Linked DNA regions of Homo sapiens: region 2 is linked to region 1. Evidence: promoter capture Hi-C in 16 types of primary human blood cells and fetal thymus (Javierre and others, 2016). All regions are on one chromosome and are shown on one strand. The core of a region is centred on a gene start or on the middle of the fragment in contact, and the rest is flanking DNA. Distances in the headings are between cores, read along the strand shown.

Evidence for each region. The method cuts DNA at HindIII sites, captures the fragments that hold promoters and counts their contacts. A CHiCAGO score of 5 or more calls a contact.
Region 2: a fragment that was not itself captured here is called in contact with the fragment with the promoter of NPSR1 in region 1 in 1 of 17 cell types (neutrophils); the score reaches 5.2 in neutrophils.

What each region holds. Positions count from the first base shown.
Region 1 is chr7:34,656,336-34,660,430 of GRCh38, reverse strand. It overlaps NPSR1 (neuropeptide S receptor 1), which reads right to left and starts at 2,213. Exons shown (of 9, transcript NM_207172.2): 1 at 1,872-2,213. The coding sequence starts at 2,018. All of the region lies in intron 2 of NPSR1-AS1 (NPSR1 antisense RNA 1), which reads left to right. RefSeq lists an enhancer at 1-174. The HindIII fragment of the contact is 9,279 bases long and covers 1-3,304 here.
Region 2 is chr7:34,447,423-34,451,517 of GRCh38, reverse strand. All of the region lies in intron 2 of NPSR1-AS1 (NPSR1 antisense RNA 1), which reads left to right. Among named protein-coding and RNA genes, the nearest start is that of NPSR1, 210 kb to the left of the region's middle. The HindIII fragment of the contact is 4,559 bases long and covers 1-3,979 here.

The DNA.
Region 1 (4,095 bases), core at 964-3,463:
TGTATCAACAATGCATTAGAATTGCTTGTGCCCAAAGGGGATCATAGAAAAAAAGTTACACTAAGAAATATAAGCTAAGTTCTCACAAATACCACCAGTAATCACTGTGTAACTAAAAATCACAGGGTTTTAGTCAATACACGTATCTCTCAAATAATGAATCTGAGCATTCTAAGCTCCTGGCCAAACACAATTCCTGTCTTTCTGCTTTTCTCCTTGTCCAGTGGTCCAGCCGTTTTGCTGCAAACATATCAATAGGAATCAGCTAGAGATGCTGTGATTCTCTTTAGTGTCTGGCGATGATGTTGCTAGGATAGAGAGGACAAACACTCATAGAGAGCAAGGTGGGATTTGTTTCTTCACATATTCCAAATATCCCTGTAGGTGCTATATTCAAAAAATGGCAAATGAGATTTCAGCTGAGATTGATTCTTGCCAGAGTCTCAGAATAACCACCTTATTGCTGATTTTATTCCCTTTGCAATGGAGGGCCTCTCTTCATTCTGCTTGCTATCATGTTCTAAGAATATCAAAGAGGCTACACAGGCAGCAATACTGAGTGGAGTCCTGTGCTTCCTGGGTGCACACAGCCTGCCAAGACAGACTCTCTGGGTCTGCAGGCTGATTTCATAAAGGGGATTATTCAGTCGACATTAAGTGGCAACAAACTCTAATTTTACTTTCTAAGCTACATCGTGGAGCTGTGCAGCTGGGCTGCGTATGTGCATATGCATTAGGAGGTGATTCCAAGGGACAGGGTTTCACTGAAGCCAGTGGAGGAGTAGTTTGCTCAGGTTCTGCTTTGCTGCAGGATCATTAGGGCCCTGGAAGTTTAAGTCTGACTCCTGGGACAGCACCCTGCTGAAAGTTTTATTCTGAATATTTGCAAAAGAAGTGAACTTCCAGTAGGGAGGTGGATGTTACAGTAATGCTATCTCATTGTGTAAAAACCAAATCATTTCAAGAACATACAGAGGATTAACAACAACAACAACAACAAAACCCAACAAAGCAACAACTAGAATCTTTTTGAAGTATTTTTTCTTCAGTGGAAAGGACCAGTTTGAGACCTGTGAATTATTGCAATGACTAAACATATCGTTAGACAGGTGTGAAATAACCTGACAACCCAGCATTCTGAGGCAAGAAGCAGGAAACTGTTCTTTTCCCAAATGTGCGGTTCATTTCTGTCCACAAGATCTTGTTGCGGAATAAGAAACAATACAGTATTAGCTTAATGAAGATCCTTCCTCAGTGTGGCCCTTGGATACTTTGAAGGTGAAACTCACCAAACTCTCTGTCCTTCATTTGTTCTAGGAGGTAATTTGTTGCAAATGGTGGCATCATCAACTACCCTCAAAGAAATATATTCCTCACTGATGTTTAATGAAAAGGATCATCAAAGAAAGTGTCGTCCTTCCTGCCTTATTCAATGTTGTTTCTCATCATATCAGTCACTGTCCTGGGGATTGTGAGCTTTCCGCATCTCTGGTGTTCCTAGCAAAAAACTCATAGCTCTAACCCCTACTAGAAACAGACATTTCAAGTACTGCTATAGGATTAATTAAAAGTGCTTTCACCTAAGGAAAGGGGGAAAGTAAAAATCATCCACTCATAAATGTTACTCACGATTCACACATTTCCAGCAGCATCAGAAAGAAAAACGTCACCTGTATTCCTAAGAAACTACAATCTAGGTCTCTGCACACTACAGCTTGTTGTTTTAGCACTTCAGACTTTTAAAAATCCTTTTTAGTAAAGAAAATAACACTCATTCACAATACTGGCTATGATACTTCAATTGACACTCTTAAGTTCCAGCAGTCTCATTGTTATAAGTCAGTGTTCAGAGTCGCAGGCAAGAAACTTACCTTAAAGGAGTAGTAGAAGGAACCCCATTCCTTTCCTTCCACCACTTCAGTAAAAGTCACTGTTTCAGTGCAAGCCACTGGGGAAGAATCCAGCGTCTGCCCGGTCCCACTGGAATCGAAGCTGCCCTCTGTGAAGTTGGCTGGCATGGCTCAGGCGGGGTTGAGCCTCACTGTCCTTGCTCCTGCAGCTGAGTGAGGGAGTCCAGCTTGCCTCCTGAGAGCTGGGCAGCAGCTGCAGCTCTGCTGAACGGAGGCACAGAGCCCTCCCTGAGCCCACCTCACTGAAGAGCTCTGCCTGATGACAGGGAGGATCTACGTGCTGCTCTCTCCTTGGCAATTACCACCAGGTAGCCAGCATAGCACAACCCTCATCACCCCACAGTCCCACCCAGGGCCAGGGCCCCACCCCAAGAGCAAGGTGGAGCTCCCCATAGCCATCGACATGGCTCCCTGGATGAGACCCCTGTTCTGTTTTGCTTTTCCTTACTTCCACGGTGGACCCCCACTTCTGCTCCAGCTTCAACAATAAAGGAATTTGGACTAATCAGTAGGTGCATGAATTCGGGTCATGTTTCCACTTCTGAAATCAAATTATAATTATGCATTTGTTTCAGCTGAGGTTGCTTTCTGACTTAAAGCCTCACCTTGCCATCTACTGTGTCATGTGCTCTTATTTCCGTAAGTGTAGGCAAATAGTACGTTTGTATTTCACACCCTTAGTTCTATCTAGGTGTTCACAGGGCGGTTCTCAGAGAAACATGAGGTCTGTGTTTGTCAATAAGCTACAACACCTTGTGATATGACTGGGAGGGGCCTGGTGAAGATTCTTACTGCTTTCAGTATATTCACCTCAGCTTCTACCTAGGACCAATACTCAGGGCGAGGGTAGAAAGGAGGTAATGCAGCATCCTGGGCACCACAGACAGGGCTAGGCGAGAATACTAACAGCTATTCCTGTTTCACAAAAAACCTGCAAAGCACATTTACACGTTCTTTCATTCAGTTTCCCAAACAACCTTGTGAGATAGGCAGGGAAGGTATCTTTATGTTCTCCTTTATGCTAGCAGAGAGTGGCTCCAATAGGTGAAATGACTTGCCCAAGATCCCGCAGCTGCTGATGTAAATGAGCTGATAACCCATCTCCAGAACTTCCTAGACAGTGGTGCTTTTACTGTAACAGACTGGTTTGCATCAAATCTCAAATGTCTATGGGGCATGAAGGTAACATGAATGAGGGTAGCAGGCCAGGTATAAAACAATGGGAACTAAGCTGCTTATATGACAACCAAGCACAATACCTGATTCCTCACATTGAGAACACTCTGTGAACCAACCAGGTCCAGCCACTGGTTTATGGCACCTGGAATAAGAGGTAGTAGCTTTAGTGGCCACCACTAAAGAACCTGGCCCCCATGAGATCTCCTGGGGAAGCTTTATTATAAACCATCGAGCCCCAAGGAGGGCACAGTGCTCTAGCAATGAGAAGGCATTGAGTCTATAATGAAGGGCAGCAAACAGAAGTGAGTTGTGTAGAAAACTGGATAAGCTGTGGACTCTTAAGGAAAGGTTCAAAACAGGACAACAACTCAATAGCAAAACAAGTGCAGCATATTCCAACTAACAAATGAGTATGAAGATAGGCTCAACCATATTAAAAATTAAGGAAAATAACTAAAACCAGTAAGAATGTTTACCTATTATTATAGTGAAAGCTAGCGTGTGGCTATCCCCAAGTGCTGACAAGATTGAAGGGAAACGGGTGTACATCTTTACTTCTGGTGAGAGTTAGTTGATGTGGTAATTTTTGAAAAGCAATTCAGCAGTATTTAGTAAAGCTGGAATTACATATCCTCTAATGCATTGTTCCATTTCTAGATGCTAATAATTTTTCATCTCTATCTGGGTTACTTACATATGCTCAATTCACATAAATTCTTTGCACTACATACTTAAAACATATGCACTTTTCTGTAGGTATGTTTTACTTCAAGAAAATGTTTATAAGACAAAATCTGTGAGGAACTCCTGGGAGAAGGTAGAAGCTGGTTAGGTCACAGTGTGGTAGGGGCAGAGTGAGAGAAAGTGGCAGATGCCATGGACAGAGAATAGGTGGGGAGAGAGAGCTTTCTGGTTGTTTCCTTTTCTCTCCATTCATGATCCAGATAGACCATTGTTTAACCTGTGGCCACCCAAGAGAAACATTTATGTATCTATACAAGCAGTC
Region 2 (4,095 bases), core at 451-2,950, 210 kb after region 1:
TTCAGTTGAAGCCATAATTGTGGAAATGGATAAAAAGTCAGGAAACCTGAGTTCCAATCACCGGTCTGTCACCAGTGCAGTCAGAGAGTTAGACCAAGAAGTGGGACAACTGGTCAGTTACTGAGGTCAGCAGTATACATGGGGCACTGAAATACTGCAGCTCTAGACTGTCTTGGAAAAGTAATGAAATGGAACAAAATGTGTTGACCAGAACTCCTTTCAGGGAGATTACTGGATGTGCTCAAAGGGAATATTTGATAGGCTTCTTGGGGTGGAAGATGAATATATTCAGTTCTCAAATAAATGTTGAATAAGCAGCTCATTTTTAACATGATCAAAATAGAATCTTTATTTCTATCATTACTATCTTTTCTCCCAGTCTTTCCTACCTGAATAACTAGTTCCAGTTTCTTTTTTTTTCTTTCTTTTTTTTTTTTTTTTTTTTTTTTTTGAGACGGAGTCTCGCTCTGTCACCCAGGCTGGAGTGCAGTGGCGCGATCTTGTCTCACTGCAGGCTCCGCCCCCCGGGTTCACGCCATTCTCCTGCCTCAGCCTCCGGACTAGCTGGGACTACAGGGGCCCGTCACCTCGCCCGGCTAATTTTTTGTATTTTTAGTAGAGACGGGGTTTCACCGTGTTAGCCAGGGTGGTCTCGATCTCCTGACCGCATGATCTGCCCAACTCGACCTCCCAAAGTGCTGGGATTACAGGCGTGAGCCACTGCGCCCGACCCAACTAGTTCCAGTTTCTTAAGCCCAAAATCTAGTTGATGTCCTGGTACCTCTCTATAGTACCTAACCATATCCAATCCATCAGCAAATCCTGCTTCTTAGTCATTCATTTTCTAAAGTGTTAATTCTTACCAGGCTAGTCATTTATTTCTTTTTCATACCCATGTGGTAGGTCATTTTTGTTTCTTACTTTATTGTTAATTTCTAGTTTTATTGCATAATTATCAGAGAATGCTGTGTATGTATGTGTGTGCACATATACATATATGTGCACATATACATATATGCACATATATACATATATGCACAAATATGCATATATATACATACACATATAAAATTTGGAATTTACTGATGTTTTATTTGAGGCCTATTCATTAATCAGTTTCATAATTGGTTCACATGTGATTGAAAATAAGTTTCTTATTCATTATATATTTATATCCTTATGGATTTTTTTGGTCTTTGAACTGTGAGAGTACTCTGAAAATATGGTTAAAGTTCTGTGTTTTCAGTGTGTTTATTGTATTTCTTCTTTTCCTATAGTTTTTGCTTTATGCAAGTTGATGCTTTGTTACTAAGTGCATAACTCTTAATAACTATTCCATCTTCATCATAAATTTTAGCCTTTAGAAGTGTAAAGTGCCTCTCTTCTGTCTTATTTAATGTTCTTTGATCTGAATTCTATTTTTGTCTAATATAAAAATTATGACCTCCACTTTCTTTTTCCTTAAATGTTTCTGGTACAGTTTTTAGCATCCTTTTGTATTTAACCTTTCTGAATCATTCATTTTAGATACGTTTCAGGAGTAATATAAAGCATTGGGTTTTGCTTAGTCTGCAAATCTTGTTATTTAATATCTGAGATAATATAATGTATGTTTATTTATACAATAAAAATCTTTCACTGTGTGTTTGTTTTCCTTGCTCTTCTGTCAGGAGGGGTATTTGTATGTGATCTGTGTGTGTGTGGTGTGTGTGTGTGTGTGTGTGTGTGTGTAGAAAGTAGAAAGTGTTGTAATTTTACAAGAAAGTGAAAGATCTCTGCAAGAAGAACTACAGAACACTGCTAAAAGAAATCATAGATGACACAAAATAATAAAAAAATCATTCCATGCTCATAGATTGGAAGAATCAATACCCTTAAAATGGCCATGCTGCCTAAAGCAATCTACAGATTCACTACTCTTTCTCTCAAATACCAATGTCATTTTTCAAAGAATTAGAAAGAAAAACTATTCTAAAATTTATACAGAACCAAAAAAGAGCTTGAATAGCCAAAGCAATTCTAAGCAAAAAAGAACAAAGCCAGAAGCATCATATTACCTGACTTCAAACTATACTACAAGGCTACAATAACCAAAACATCATGGTACTAATATAAAAACAGACATATAGATCAATGGGACAGAATGGAAAACCCAGAAATAAAGCCACACATTTACAACAACTGATCTTTGACAAAGTTGATAAAAATAAATAATGGGTAAAAAAAATACCGTATTCAGTAAATTGTGCTGAGATATTTGGCTATCCATATCCAGAAGAATGGAACTAAACTGCTACCTGTGACCATATACAAAAAATTAACTCAAGGTGAATAAAAACTTAAATGTAAGATTTAAAACTATAAAAATCCTAGAAGAAAACCTAGGAAATACCCTTCTGGACATTGGCCTTGGCAAATAATTTATGATTAAGTCCTCAAAAGTAATTGCAACAAAAACAAAAATTAAAGGGGAACCTAATTAAACTAAAGAGCTTCTGCACAGCAAAAGAATCTATTAACAGAGTAAACAGGCAAACTATAGAATGACAAAAAATATTTGCAAACTATGCATCTGACAAAGATCTACTATCCAGAATCTATGAGAAACTTAAACAAATCAACAAACAAAAGCAACCCCATTAAAATTGGCAAAAGTCATGAATGGATACTTTTCACAAGAAGTTATACAGGCAGCAAACACATATGAAAAAATGCCGAGCATCACTAATCATCAGAGAAATGCAAATCAAAACCACAATGAGACATCATCTCACACCAGTCAGAATGGCTATTATTAAAAAGTCAAAAAATAACAGATGTTGGCAAGGCCATAAAGAAAAGGGAATGCTTATACACTGCTGGTGGGAATGCAAATTAGTTCAGCCACTGTGGAAAGCAATCTGGAGATTTCTCAAAGAACTTAAATCTGAGGACCATTTGACTCAGCAATCCTATTACTGGGTATATACTCAAAGGAAAATAAATCGTTCTACCAAAAAGACACATGCACTCATATGTTCATTGCAGCATCACTCACAATAGCAGAGACATGGAATTAACCTAGGTGCCATCAACAGTGGATTGGATAAAGAAAAGTGGTAGAAATACACCATGAAATACTATGCAGCCATAAACAGGAATAAAATTATGTCCTCTGCAGCAACATGGATGCAGCTGGAGGTTATCCTAAGCAAATTAATGCAAGAACAGAAAACCAAATACCACGTGTTCTCACATATATTTTTGTTTTTGTTTTTACTGTTCTCACATATAAATTGGAGCTAAACATTGGGTACACATGGATATACAAATGAGAGCAATAGACATTGGCAACTGCAAGCGGGGGAGAGAAGGGCCAAAGGTTAAAACTCCTTTCAGAACTCTTTGATGAAGTCCTGTGATCACTACCTGGGTGAGGGGTTCAACTGTAATCCAAACCTCAGCGTCACACAATATACTCGTGTAACAAACTGCATATGTACTCCTTGAATCTAAAATAAAAGTTCAACTAAAAAAGAAAATGTAATTTTATTCTAATTGTTACTAACACCTTTACAGAATATACTTTGTCCTCTTTCTTTAGATAAACTCACAGATTCCCATTTCCCCATTATGACCAGTAGTGAAATTACTGTAATTTTTTTCTCCCTTCCTTCCTTCTCCCTCACTATACTGTTTTAGTCACCTAGTATTGCCTTAGTGTTATCAAGAGTGCTTTTAAACATATTTAACTTCTATAACTAGGTGTTGAGTTTCAAAGGCTTTTCTTTTACTCCCAGCTAATACACATAACACAATCAATAAGTTCTTACATTTCACTTAACCTTCCCCTCACGTCCTACATTTTTGCTAATTTTATTATCTCTATATTGTTAGAGCACAAAATGTTTACCTATTTTTGTTACCAGATACCTGTGTTTTAGTTGAGTTCCATAGTTAAATTTATTAAATGATCACTCCCAGACTTTATATTGAAGCTTCTCCAGTCACATGAGTTTGTCTAATGCTCATTCTCTAACAGATTCTTCAGGAAAGGTTCATTAGATCAGTCTTCACAGGATCTTTCCATATTCATAAGTATTTGTATGGGGCCTT